Linked DNA regions of Homo sapiens: all the other regions are linked to region 1. The links are contacts of gene promoters, found by promoter capture Hi-C in human tissues and cell types (Jung and others, 2019). All regions are on one chromosome and are shown on one strand. The core of a region is centred on a gene start or on the middle of the fragment in contact, and the rest is flanking DNA. Distances in the headings are between cores, read along the strand shown. Region 1 holds the start of WNT6 (Wnt family member 6). Region 2 overlaps TTLL4 (tubulin tyrosine ligase like 4). Region 3 has its middle 13 kb from the start of CYP27A1. Region 4 overlaps CYP27A1 (cytochrome P450 family 27 subfamily A member 1).

Region 1 (3,376 bases), core at 571-3,070:
TTTCCTTGGAACTCTGGATTTTAAATGTAAATGAATCCCCTTTTTCACTCCTGGGGACCCTGGCCAGGAGAAGCTGGGTTGTGAGGGGGGCGCTGTACATACTGAGTACCTCCTAAGGTCCTATTATTCTACACGTCCTCCCACCTAACCTTCCCAGCAAGCCTGCCAGGTAGGGAGACTGTTATCCTATTTCCAGTTAAGACTGAGAGGTAGGGAAAGGAAGTGACTAGCCCAAGATCACAAACATAATGTTTAGATCTTAGATCTATCTGCTTCAAAGCTGCCACTGCATTATACTAAGCCGGATCAAAGGGCATATGTTCCCTAGATAGGACCTGGGTCGTCCTCGGTTCGCCCTTTCCGTGACACTAGCGTCGGACGGCTCTCCGCATCACGGAGTAGGGATTGCTGCCCGCCACTCCCTGTGTGGGCATCCTACTCCCTATCTCTCCAGAGCACGGGGATCTGCCTCTCTTCCAAATCTGGGGGGCGAGGGAGGAGCGGAGGGTCGGCATCCAGCCAATCACATGGCAATATGCAAATAGACACGACCCTGCCTTCTTAGGATTGGCTAACCCGTCAGCGTTATTGTCCAAGTCTCTCCTCTCTAAACACTGAGCTATTCCGGGCGAGGGTTTGCGGCTCTGGAGACCTAGGGGGAAAAAAGTCCTTTGGATCTGGATCTCTGAGCCGTCCCGGTCGGGCACCCTCCTTCCCCGCCCCGGCCCCACCCCCACCCCCAAGGCTCGAAGCTCCCGCAACCTTCGCTGCCTAGGTGTCCCTTCTAGCTAGGGCCAAGCCTGGGAAGACGCCCCCTTCCCTTGGCTGGCCAGGCCCCTCTCCCTTCCCGCAGGACCCCTCCCGGTCCCGTATCTCCCGGGCTGCACATATTTTTTCATTCATGACCCCCAGGTCTGGAAGGGCCGGGCGCCTGGGTCCGGTTCCTTCCGCTCCTCCTTTTCCTTGCTTGGGGAGGACGAGGTAGAGAAAACCAGGGTCCTGACTCACTTTCCCCTTTATATTCCCTCTGTCGTCACTAAGGCCCACTCCTCAGGAGCCCAGAGAGAAGCCGGTGGGTTGGTAGGCAAAGCAGGGCGGGGAAGGGGCAGCTGTGTGGCCCTCTCTGCCTTGTGGCTTCCCACCTTGTTCCTGTCTTCTCCAAATCCAGCCCCATACCCTGAATCCAGGGCCCTCCTCACACATTCTTTTCCTCGGATATGTGTCTTCCCGAAAGATCTTTCCTACCCACTCGCCTGTTCCTTGGTGAGCTGGGTGAGCGCATAACTTGGCGGGGGGTGGGAGAGAACCCGGGAGGAGGAAACACAATAGAATGTTCCCGAGGGTTAGGAACGTCGAAGTGGAGTTCAGAAACGCCCCCGGCCGAGGCCAGAAAGCTGGGCTCGGAGAGCAGGTAGAGCCGGGAGGCTGCGGAACACCCCAGTCTGTCCTGGGTCCCGGGGTCCCCACCCTCCAGGGTCCAGAGCCGCGCCAGGACAGCCGGACTCACCACCACAGTCCGCCGACGTGCGCCGGGCACAGGAGCAGCAGCAGCAGCAGCCCGAGGCGGGAGGGTAAGGGCGGCAGCATCGTGACCGCCCTACGGCCGCCCGGGTGGGCAGGGGGCGAGGCTGCGGGGCGAACCGCGGCGCGCGAGGGCCCGGGCTTCAGTGCGAGCGCGGCGAGCGCAACGGCGGCGGCCGGGAGGCGAGGGATCCGGCGGCGGCGGGGGGGCCCATCCCGGGCGAGGAGGGCGCGGCGGAGGCGGAGAGCGGACGGGGCAGCCAGCGCCTGTGTCTCCTGCGGAGCTCGCTCGGGAGAAGAAATCAGAGCCGGGGGCGGAGGTGGGAGGGGAGCGGGGCCGAGGCGGGGGCGGGGGGCAGGGGGCCGGAGGGAGGTGGCAGTTGCGACAGTCAGGCAGCGGGACTCTCGGGAGCGAGCCGTGCGCCCCGGGGCGGCTGGCGCGGAGCGCAGCGGAGGGCGGGAGCGGGGTGCCGGGGCGGGGCCCCAGCGCGCTTCGGGCTGTGGGACCCGCCCGCTTCGCCCCCTCGCCTCGCCTCTCTCGGACTTGGAGCCCCCCGCCGCTCGCGGCCGCCTGGAGTCGGGGGCAAGGAAGGGCTGGGAAGAAGAGTAGAGAGGGGTGAGGGGGGAGAAAGAGGAGCTGAGGAATGGGGGACGGGCTGGAAGGGAGACGTTTGACAGGTTTGTTGACTGTAAAGAGAGAAAACTTCCCAGGAATGAGGGAGTTTGGGGCGGGGGGCGGTGCGGAGGGAGATGCTGGCGCGGAGGCAAGAGAGGAAGTTGGCCTGGGGCGCGGGGTGCTTCGGCGAGGGTTGTCAAACTGGACCGCCCGACAGGCGGATGCTGGAGGGGTCATCTCTTTCCGTGTCCCTGTTCGATGCCTCATGCCCCTTCGTCAGCCTCTCCTTGAAGAAGGGAGGAAGCCCTGGGCCTCCGCTCTCGCTCCCCCAGCCATCCCACCTCTCAAGCCCGCGTTCTAGGGCGGGGAGGTGGGGGAAATGAGAGGGCAAGAGTAGCCGCTCCAGGGCGTGCGCGCAAGCGCTGGCACTTGTAAGCGAGCGGGAGAATGGAGGTCGCAGACTTTCAAGAGATCGAGGGGTCAGAATTCGCTTTAGCCCGGCCTCGCGTGTCCAAGAGTCCCTGCCTCGAGTTCCTCCCCCAACCTGGCCCGGGTAGAAGGGGTGGGAGAGCCAGCTGCAGGTGAGATGGCGTTTATCAGATTTTCTAATGCCACAAAAATGTCTTTGATGCCCCTGGCCCCCTCCCCACGAGGGGGAGATCAAAGGCTCCGTGGGGAAGAGGGACAGCTCCATTCATCATGCCATTCGGCTGGCAGTGGGCAGCAGCCCCTGCCCCTCCCGTCCCCGACGTGCCCCGGGGTGCCAAGGGACAGGTGGTGTGGGACATTCTCCCTGCCATACCATCAAGAGCAACCATCAACCTTTAAAGCTGTCCTGGAGTGGGGAGGACAGATCGAGTCCCTATGGCAGAAACGTCAGGCGCCCAGAAGAAAGCTCCTGGTTGTTGGTAGAGAGGGGGACCTGAATGTGGGGACTGAGGTCGCTTCCAAGAGAGTGATGACTGAGGTCACTTCCAAACAACCTTGGTGAGCAGAGAGAGAAGACAAGATCCTGAGTCACCCAGAGAGGGGGGACAAGTAGATCAAGATGAGGCCAAGGGGCCAAGGGATGTGACCCCAGGGGAGGAGGCTGATGGGGGAAGGAATGAGCAGACAGAGGTGAGAGAACTGGAGAAGTGTGGACTTGCCGGCAAGCAAGCTCCATGTCAGGGCCCTGGTGTCCAGGCTGCATCAGCTCAATCCCTTGCACTGGATACAGAGAGTTCTGGTGAAAGGGCT
Region 2 (3,376 bases), core at 325-2,824, 120 kb after region 1:
TGGAAGAAGTGGCCTTGTTGGCAGTGAGACTGACAGGGAGGCTCTTTTGAGGGAGAGAAAAAGGGCTTTTTTCTGACGGGCTCGAACGCAAGCAGAAAGACTCCAGTTGCTGGTACGGTTTTTGCCTATAGCTGGAGCGGCGGTATAGCAGGGTGCTGTTGAACAAGTCCGGGAGAGAGTGTAGGTAACAGGAACTGCTGTGGCCTGCAATGACAGCCGTGGTCCCAGAGCTACATAAAGTGCTGGGGCAAAAGAAATATGCTGGCTGGGGTGGGACGCCCAAGAGGCCTGGGCCCAACCCTGCTGACAGTGTCTCCACTTGCTTCTTTTCCAGCTTCCAGATTGGCTTCACTTGCTGATGGGCCTGAGGCCAGACTCTGCCCTCCGAGGGTTTCTCAGGTGGCGTGGCAGGTACTGTGCCTGAGGGACCACTCTGCTTGAAGCTGTTTTTCTGGCGGAGGCCAATACTATAGTGCTGTGTTCCTGCTGAGGCCATGAGGGGCCCACATCATGGCCACACGGTCTCATGGCCTTGCTGAGGTAAGGTGCCACACACCTCCGGTAGTAGCAGCTGCATCCTTGAAGTCTGTCAGTCTGAAGTGGAGAGAAATGATAGGAAATGTTACAGTGCCAGGAGAACGGACACCATGCTACAGTGGTCCTCAGGTAAGCAGTACAGTCCCACTTCAGCATTTTTGGGCAACCAGTCTTGGTCGTCATTTGGGGCACTGGGAGAAGAACACCAGATTTCCAGGGAGTTTTCAATGATCTTCCTACTGCCCTCATAGGATCAAAGCTGGCTTCATTACGGACTAAAACACTGAGGTGCCACCACCACTGTGAAGCTGCTTATGAGTCCCCACTCTGTCACTCAGAAAGCTTTCCTCTCTCTCCAACAAAAAATACATCTTTCTGTCTCACCGCCCACAACTTTCCATGAGGGGCTACCTTCCCTCACCCAAAACCAGTGTGGCTAGGAATAAAGCAAATCTGAAGTGAGAGAGAGGACTCAGTATCTTCCTTCTCATAAATCAATTCTGAAAGATTAAAGATTATTTGAGTCCAGGTGAGGCAGCTCACACCTGTAATCCCAGCTTGAGCCCAGGAGTTCAAGACCAACCTGCCCAACATGGCAAAACCCCGTCACTACCAAAAATTAGCTAGGCATTGTGGCGTGCACCTGAAGTCCCAGCTACTGGGGAGGCTGAGGTGGGAGGATCGCTTGAGCCTGGGAGGCAGAGGTTGCAGTGAGCTGAGCTGGTGTCACTGTACTCCAGCATGGGCAACAGAGTGAGACCCCATCTCAGAAAAAAAAAAAAAAAAGACGATCTGAAAAACTCATTTTACATCTACTGCTCCCTAAATCAACTCAGCTGCCTCTGATTTAGTCTGCTTTTCATGGTTAAATAGGACAAGTTCAGACAGGAGAAGAGAATTCCCTTGCTGATCCCGGAGTTTATTCTGGAGCTGAGACAGCAATTTCATCTCTGCTAACTATACAGATTTAAATTCCATCCTGTGTGTTGGTGGGAAAAAGAAGAAAGGAAATTGAACTAAACACCAGCATTATTTTTACTTAAAGTGACTTTATTTCCAGCAGCCATACTGGGACAGGAGAGTTCAGGGAGTAAGAAGAGGACAGAAGCTTTCTTTACTCCAAAGCCCAGGCTTAAGTTTGGGCTGATCTCAGGGAGGAAGAGCCTGTCTCTTTTGCATCTTCTCAATCAGTGTTTCCTTTAATACAAAACCTGTAAGCCAGCCTTCTGGGTCTCAAACTGTTCAGCATGGTCACTTACTTTCTAAATCAAATTCACAAAATATTCTCCAGTAAGGAAAGGTGGGCCTGCTTTCATGGCAGCATCTGGGGGAAATAACAAAAACTGTAAAAAGTCATTCGTGGCCAGGTGCAATGGCTCACACCTGTAATCCCAGCACTTTAGGAGGCTGAGGCAGGCAGATCACTTGAGCTCAGGAGTTTGAGACCATACTGGGCAACATCGCAAAACCCCGTCTCTACAAAAAATACAAAAATCAGCCAGGTATGGTGGCGCATGCCTGTGGTCCCAGCTACCTGGGAAGCTGAGGTATGAAAAACGCTTGAGCATGGAAGGTGGAAGTTGCAGCAAACCAAGATAGCACCACTGCTCTCCAGCCTGGGTGACAGAGTGAGACCCTGTCTCACAAAAAAAAAAAAAAAAAAAAAAAGGCTGGGCACGGTGGCTACATCTGTAATCCCAGCACTTTGGGAGGCCAAGGCAGGTGGATCACGAGGTCAGGAGTTCAAGACCAGCCTGGCCAGCATGGTGAAACGCTCTCTACTAAAAATACAAAAATTAGCCATGCACGGAGGAGGGTGCCTGTAATCCCAGCTACTTGGGAGCCTGAGGCAGGAGAATCGCTTGACCTCGGGAGGCGGAGGTTGCAGTGAGCCGAGATCGCGCCATCGCACTCCAGCCTGGGTGACAGAGTGAGACTCTGTCTCAAAAAAAAAAAAAGGAGTCATTTGTCTGGGATAATTCTGAATGGAATCCTGACATTCTCATCAAGTGTGTTTTCAGAGTAGCTAGAGGGAAGGAATTTGCAGAGAGGTTTTGTTTTGTTTTGAGGGTCTTGCTCTGTCACCCAAACTGGAATGCAGTGGCACAAACATGGCTCACTGCAGCCTCAGACTCCTGGACTCAAATGATCCTCCCCCTTCAGCCTCCCAAATAGCTGGGACCACAGGCATGCATCACCACACACAGTTGATTTTTTTAAATTTTTTTATTAAGATAGGGAGTGGCGGTATCTCACTATGCTGCCCAGGCTGGTCTCGACTCCTGGCCTCAAGCGATCCTCCTCTCTCAGCCTCCCAATAAACTGGGATTACAAGCCTGAGCCACTGAACCCAGCCCTAGGAGAGATGGTTTTTTCGCTTAAGTTATATTTAAAATGCAAAAATGGGGAGAGTACCTTGTATTCTGATTAACAGTGTAATGGCCAAGGAAGAACTAAGATTCCTGTCTACAGCCACGAATGAATACCACCAACAAACACTGCAGAAGCCATGGGATATCGCCCTCTTTACCTGCAAAGGCTGACCTACATGGACTCTTTCTCAAGGGGAGTACAAAAAATCACAATGCAGCACTGCCAATATTCAAAATGATAATGAGCTAAAAACAGCATAAATGCTAAAACTGGATTTTGAGGCCAGTCACCTCAAAATGAGGTTACAGAAAATGGACCACCACACAAATCCAAACTATGGAAATACCGTGCTTGGAACAATTACAGCGTGTGTTTGTGGTAGAGAAGCATAGAGACAAAGGGAAAAGTCAAATCCTGCCATTCACTTTACGAGACTACAAGCACGCATGCATGTGTATTAAGTACA
Region 3 (3,376 bases), core at 530-3,029, 91 kb after region 1:
CATAATGGTAAAGGGATCAATTCAACAAGAAGAGCTAACTATCCAAAATATATATGCACCCAATACAGGAGCACCCAGATTCATAAAGCAAGTTCTTAGAGACCTACAAAGAGACTTAGACTCCCACACAATAATAGTGGGAGACTTTAACACCCCACTGTCAATATTAGACAGATCAACAAGACAGAGAGTTAACAAGGATATCCAGGACTTGAACTCAGCTCTGCACCAAGCAGACCTAATAGACATCTGCAGAACTCTCCACCCCAAATCAACAGAATATACATTCTTCTCACCACATAGCACTTATTCTAAAATTGACCACATAATTGGAAATAAAGCACTCCTCAGTAAATGTAAAAGAACAGAAATCACAATAAACTGTCTCTCAGACCACAGTGCAATCAAACTAGAACTCAGGATTAAGAAACTCACTCAAAACCACAAAACTACATGGAAACTGAACAACCTGCTCCTGAATAACTACTGGGTAAATAACGAAATGAAGGCAGAAATAAAGATGTTCTTTGAAACCAATGAGAACAAAGACACAATGTACAAGAATCTCTCGGACACATTTAAAGCAGTGTGTGGAGGGAAATTTATAGCACTAAATGCCCACAAGAGAAAGCAGGAAAGATCTAAAATCAACATCTTAACATCACAATTAAACGAACTAGGGAAGCAAGAGCAAACACATTCAAAAGCTAGCAGAAGGCAAGAAATCACTAAGATCAGAGCAGAACTGAAGGAGATAGAGACACAAAAAACCCTTCAAAAAATCAATGAATCCAGGAGCTGGTTTTTTGAAAGAATCAACAAAATTGATAGACCGCTAGCAAGACTAATAAAGAAAAAAAGAGAGAGGAATCAAACAGGTGCAATAAAAAATGATAAAGGGGATATCAACACCGATCCCACAGAAATACAAACTACCATCAGAGAATACTATAAATTCCTCTACGCAAATAAACTAGAAAATCTAAAAGAAATGGATAAATTCCTGGACACATACACCCTCCCAAGACTAAACCAGGAAAAAGTTAAATCTCTGAATAGACCAATAACAGGCTCTGAAATTGAGGCAATAATTAATAGCCTACCAACCAAAAAAAGTCCAGGGCCAGATGGATTTACAGCCAAATTCTACCAGAGGTACAAAGAGGAGCTGGTACCATTCCTTCTGAAACCATTCCAATCAATAGAAAAAGAGGGACTCCTCCCTAACTCATTTTATGAGGCCAACATCATCCTGATACCAAAGCCTGGCAGAGACACAACAAAAAAAGAGAATTTTAGACCAATATCCCTGGTGAGCGTCGATGCAAAAATCCTCAATAAAATACTGGCAAAATGAATCCAGCAGCACATCAAAAAGCTTATCCACCATAATCAAGCCTGCTTCATCCTGGGATGCAAGGCTGGTTCAACATACACAAATCAATAAACATAATCCATCGCATAAACAGAACCAAAGACAAAAACCACATGATTATCTCAACAGATGCAGAAAAGGCCTTTGACAAAATTCAACAGCCCTTTGTACTAAAAACTCTCAATAAACTAAGTACTGATGGAACGTATCTCAAAATAATAAGAGCTATTTATGACAAACCCATGCCAATGTCATTTTGAATGGGCAAAAACTGGAAGCATTTCCTTTGAAAACTGGCACAGGACAGGGATGACCTCTCTCACCACTCCTATTCAACATAGTGTTGGAAGTTCTGGCCAGGGCAATCAGACAAGAGAAAGAAATAAGGGGTATTCAATTACGAAAAGAGGAAGTCAAATTGTCCCTGTTTGCAGATGACATGATTGTATATATAGAAAACCCCTTGTCTCAGCCCAAAATCTCCTTAAGATGATAAGCAACTTCAGCAAAGTCTCAGGATACAAAATCAATGTGCAAAAGTCACAAGCATTCCTATATACCAATAACAGACAAACAGAGAGCCAAATCATGAGTGAACTCCCATTCACAATTGCTTCAAAGAGAATAAAATACCTAGGAATCCAACTTACAAGGGATGTGAAGGACCTCTTCAAGGAGAACTAAAAACCACTGCTCAAGGAAATAAAAGAGGACACAAGCAAATGGAAGAACATTCCATGATCATGGATAGGAAGAATATCATGAAAATGGCCATACTGCCCAAGGTAATTTATAGACTTAATGCCATTCCCATCAAGCTACCAATGACTTTCTTCACAGAATTGGAAAAAACTACTTTAAAGTTCATATGGAACCAAAAAAGAGCCCGCATTGCCAAGGCAATCCTAAGCAAAAAGAACAAAGCTGGAGGCATCATGCTACTTGACTTCAAACTATACTACAAGGCTACAGTAACCAAAACATCATGGTACTGGTTCCAAAACAGATATATAGACCAATGGAACAGAACAGAGGCCTCAGAAATAACACCACACATCTACAACCATCTGATTTTTGACAAACCTGATAAAAACAAGAAATGGGGAAAGGATTCCCTATTTAATAAATGGTGCTGGGAAAACAGGCTTAGCCACATGTAGAAAGCTGAAACTGGATCCCTTCCTTACACCTTATACAAAAATTAATTCAAGATGGATTAAAGACTTAAATGTTAGACCTAAAACCATTAAAACCCTAGAAGAAAACCTAGGCAATACCATTCAGGACATAGGCATGCGCAAGGACTTCATGACTAAAACACCAAAAGCAATGGCAACAAAAGGCAAAATAGACAAATGGGATATAATTAAACTAAAGAGCTTCTGCACAGCAAAAGAAACTACCATCAGAGTGAACAGGCAACCTACAAAATGGGAGAAAATTTTTGTAATCTACCCATCTGACAAAGGGCTAATATCCAGAATCTACAAAGAACTTAAGCAAATTTACAAGAAAAAAAAAACCCCATCAAAAAGTGGGCAAAGGATATGAAAAGACACTTCTCAAAAGAAGACATTTCTGCAGCCGACACATGAATAAATGCTCATCATCACAGTCATCAGAGAAATGCAAATCAAAACCACAATGAGATACCATCTCACACCAGTTAGAATGGCGATCATTAAAAAGTCAGGAAACAACAGATGCTGGAGAGGATGTGGGGAAATAGGAACACTTTTCCACTGTTGGTGGGACTGTAAATTAGTTCAACCATTGTGGAAGACAGTGTGGCGATTCCTTAAGGATCTAGAACTAGAAATACCATTTGACCCAGCGATCCCATTACTGGGTATATACCCAAAGGATTATAAATCACGCTACTATAAAGACACAGGCACATGTATGTTTATTGTGGCACTATTCACAATTGCAAAACTTGGAACCAACCCAAATGTCCATCAATGATAGACTGGATTAAGAAAATGTGGCACATACACACCA
Region 4 (3,376 bases), core at 652-3,151, 65 kb after region 1:
TGGATATTGCGACATTGGAATAAAGGAAGAGCTGAAATATTCACAAATATCAAGCAAAACAAGAGCTAACTGAAAGAACTCAGGAAACTGAAGCATGTCTTTTTGACTTTTGCTTGTAATACTGCTGATCCTTGTTTTGTTTTTCAGAGTCAAAGAAACTTATTTTGAATTATTTACAGCCTTAATAATTGAGTAAGCTATATGCCCGTGAACAAAACTTGGAGCATGTTTGTTTCTCTCTGCCAGGTTCCTCTAGAATTTGGAAACTATCTGTGAGTTGTGTTTTTTTGTTTGTTTGTTTGTTTTTGAGACAGAGTCTTGCTCTGTTGCCCAGGCTGGAGTGCAGTGGTGTGATCTCGGCTCACTACAACCTCTGCCTCCCGGGTTCAAGTGATTCTCCTGCCTCAGCTTCCCAAGTAGCTGGAACTATAGGTGTGTACCACCACGCCTGGCTAATTTTTGTATTTTTAGTAGAGACGGGGGTTTCACCATGTTGGCCAGGCTAGTCTCGAACTCCTAACCTCAGGTGATCCATCCGCCTCAGCCCCCCAAAGTGCTGGGATTACAGGCGTGAGCCACTGCACCCAGCAGAGTATTCTTAATTTATGGCAATATAGTTGTTTGCATCAGTGCAATAAGAATCCATTTTTCTTTTGCAACAGGATGCAATTGGAGAAACTGTTGTTTTACCAAGGCTTTGACTAGAAAGGTATGCTTCCCTTTAAGGAGTCAAGCTCGACTTGCCAAGCCAATAAAAGCCCCTTTTGGAAAAGAAACTGGCCTTATACCCTCGACTACACAGTCCCTGTACAGGGTTCCTGACCCGTGGTCAGTAAAGAATGTCACTTTCTAACAGGCCCAGGAGCTCCGAGTTTATCTTGGGACCTTAAAGGAGAGGATCACCCAACTCACAGGTATTTAAGGATACAAACCCATGGCTGGGCTCAGCTTTAAAAGGTCTTATCTGAGCTTCCTTTTGGAACAGAGTTCCATCAAAGCCAATCTAAAAGGCCTATGTAGAAATAATTATTCTTGCTGTACTTTATGCAAATAATCAGGCCAAGTATAAGACTAAAGTCTACTTTGCAAACAACTCAGTCCTATTATGATTTTTTTTAACAAAAATGAGGACTGGAGAGAGAGAAATTATGTTTCAAAACTTATACATTTGTAATTAAATTCTAAACTCATTCATTGTTCTTAAGTTTTTGCCTACATTTTAGACTAACCCTGCCTGCTCCTGTGAACCAACCAGCAATCTTTGGCTGCAGCTCAGATGGATAATGTAAAAATCTGGGTCAATATTCTGGTTCTGAGCAATTATCCTGCAAATCCTGTCAGGTGACAGGAATAAGTAGGATGCCCATCACTTGGAGGTTTCCTTTTTGGGAAAGGAAGACCAAGGGAGCTAACCAAAACCAAGCACCATGCACCCAAGTCTTAGCAAGCATAACCATAGCCACCAGTTATCTGGGTGTGTCACAAGACATCCCTTTCTCTCCCTTGTTGCAGGAGGACTCGATTCCACAGTTTCACCTTAGCATTTGGCTTATGATAAGAAGTCCATGCAACACCCCCTGAGACACAATTTTGTCCCAAACTCAATTCCAAGCTTCGGGTCAAAGCCCTAGGAAAGAAAACTGGATCTACAGGATCCAGAGGCAGATGATAACAGAGGTTAAAAGGCACAGCACAGGTGAGCATGGCTAATTTCTGCTGATTAAGCCAAGCCTCTCATTTCATGGATAAAGTCATGCTAGTATCCATGGCATAAATGAGGTCTAGGGAACTCCAAGGCTACTGACACTAGTGGGAATAGAGACATAGGTGAGAGTGGATAATTCCTATTCTCTAGGCCCTCCCTGCTTCATGGGTTCAGGCCGCTTTGACACCCATGGGTGGCACCCTGTCGCAGTTGTCAGGATTCAGGGATGCAAGGATGGAAGAGGGAAAGAGAATACTCTTCCTTCTCTTCTTCATGTACCCCAGATATTTGCTAGGAAGAGAAGGGAACCAGAGATGTCTGCTCCTCTCTTTTCTAGATGAGTAGCCATTCTTCTTCAGTCTGTACCCTTTCAAATGCATCCTGAACCCCTAGGACCCCTTTGAAAAGGAGCCTTCTTTTTTCTTTTCTCCTCCTCTGTCCTCTCTTCACTGATAGGTAATTGTGGCTCTGTACTACAGGACACTCCCCTCAGATGCATCCTCCAAACTGGGAAAAGTTAATTTCCCAAACCTTAAACTGGCTGGTTCAGGATTGGGCTCAAGGGAAGGGAACCCAGAAGCCCAACACGCCGGCAAAAGGGTAAAGTTTTTTTTAACCAGTCAGGATTTTGGCCTCCCTCTCCCTGGGCAAACTGGTAAAAGGCCTTGGGATTTTTGAGCTGATCTTACCCGCCCTTTTCTCCTTTTGATACATGTTTTCTAATAACCTGGTTTGTCTCTTCTCACCTTCAGGCCATCAAACTCCAAATGGTCATGCAACCAGAGCCTCTGACAATGGCCCGTTTTGCCGGGGACCCTTAGGCCTCTGAGGGAGATATGACTGCCATTTTCCCAAAACTATGCCCGCTGTCAGCAGGAAGCAGTTAAGATCAATCTTCATCCTTATCCCAATCCTTATTCTAATGGCAGTTAGAAGTACTTCTTTAGAGTGGGGAATGAGACAGCCAAGTAAAAAGAGGTCCCTGGAGAAACTCCGACTGGTCCGCGCACTGGGGTGGAGCCTCGGGAGGTTTACCCGTTTGCAGAGGGAGGAGCTTGTCCTCTCCCGTACCAGGGTGGTAACCTGGGGATTCAATCTGTGAGATGGGGGCCTGTTAACAGGCACCTCTCTAGCTTTACTGAATTTTTTTCCTTTTCACCCAATAAATTCCATTTTTCTCACCCTTCTATGTGTCCGCGAGCCTAATCTTTCCTGGTTGTGTGACAAGGACCCCATTTTTAATTGAACTAAGAAGAAAGTCCTACAACAGCCTGGCCAACATGGCAAAACTCTGTCTCTACTAAAATACGAAAAATTAGCCAAGCATGGTGGCGCATACCTATAATCCCAGCTACTTGGGAGTCTGAGGCATGAGAATTGCTTGAACCTGGGGGCGGAGGTTGCAGTGGGCCGAGATGGTGCAACTGCACTCCAGCCTGGGTGAAAAAGTGAGAATATGTCTCAAAAAAAAAAAAAAAGAAAGAGAAACTTGGGGAAAATGTGAAACAAAAGGTTTATGGAAATGTGTGGTTTAAAAGATGACAAATTTGATAAATGTATTTATGAAGTTTTATTAAAATTAGTTTTAATATGATAATATACTAATACAAAAGTGAAATATTTCTCTTTTGGATAAAATTTTCTGTAGTGTTAATAAGACAGTAAAATATT

Evidence for each region. Contacts are between HindIII fragments. The study calls those that stand out against the background at their distance.
Region 2: a fragment that was not itself captured here is called in contact with the fragment with the promoter of WNT6 in region 1 in 3 of the 25 tissues and cell types used here (H1 embryonic stem cells, liver and spleen).
Region 3: a contact is called between a fragment that was not itself captured here and the fragment with the promoter of WNT6 in region 1, in 6 of the 25 tissues and cell types used here (H1 embryonic stem cells, bladder, mesenchymal stem cells and 3 more).
Region 4: a fragment that was not itself captured here is called in contact with the fragment with the promoter of WNT6 in region 1 in 4 of the 25 tissues and cell types used here (H1 embryonic stem cells, IMR-90 fibroblasts, liver and 1 more).

The regions. Positions count from the first base shown.
Region 1 is chr2:218,858,249-218,861,624 of GRCh38, reverse strand. WNT6 (Wnt family member 6) reads right to left here and starts at 1,820. Exons shown (of 4, transcript NM_006522.4): 1 at 1,508-1,820. The coding sequence starts at 1,587. The HindIII fragment of the contact is 31,874 bases long and covers 1-3,376 here.
Region 2 is chr2:218,734,797-218,738,172 of GRCh38, reverse strand. It overlaps TTLL4 (tubulin tyrosine ligase like 4), which reads right to left. Exons shown (of 20, transcript NM_014640.5): 3 at 1-594. The coding sequence starts at 496. Among named protein-coding and RNA genes, the nearest start is that of TTLL4, 26 kb to the right of the region's middle. The HindIII fragment of the contact is 3,995 bases long and covers 1-3,376 here.
Region 3 is chr2:218,767,033-218,770,408 of GRCh38, reverse strand. No RefSeq gene overlaps it. Among named protein-coding and RNA genes, the nearest start is that of CYP27A1, 13 kb to the left of the region's middle. The HindIII fragment of the contact is 7,453 bases long and covers 1-3,376 here.
Region 4 is chr2:218,793,525-218,796,900 of GRCh38, reverse strand. All of the region lies in intron 1 of CYP27A1 (cytochrome P450 family 27 subfamily A member 1), which reads right to left. Among named protein-coding and RNA genes, the nearest start is that of CYP27A1, 13 kb to the right of the region's middle. The HindIII fragment of the contact is 6,304 bases long and covers 1-3,376 here.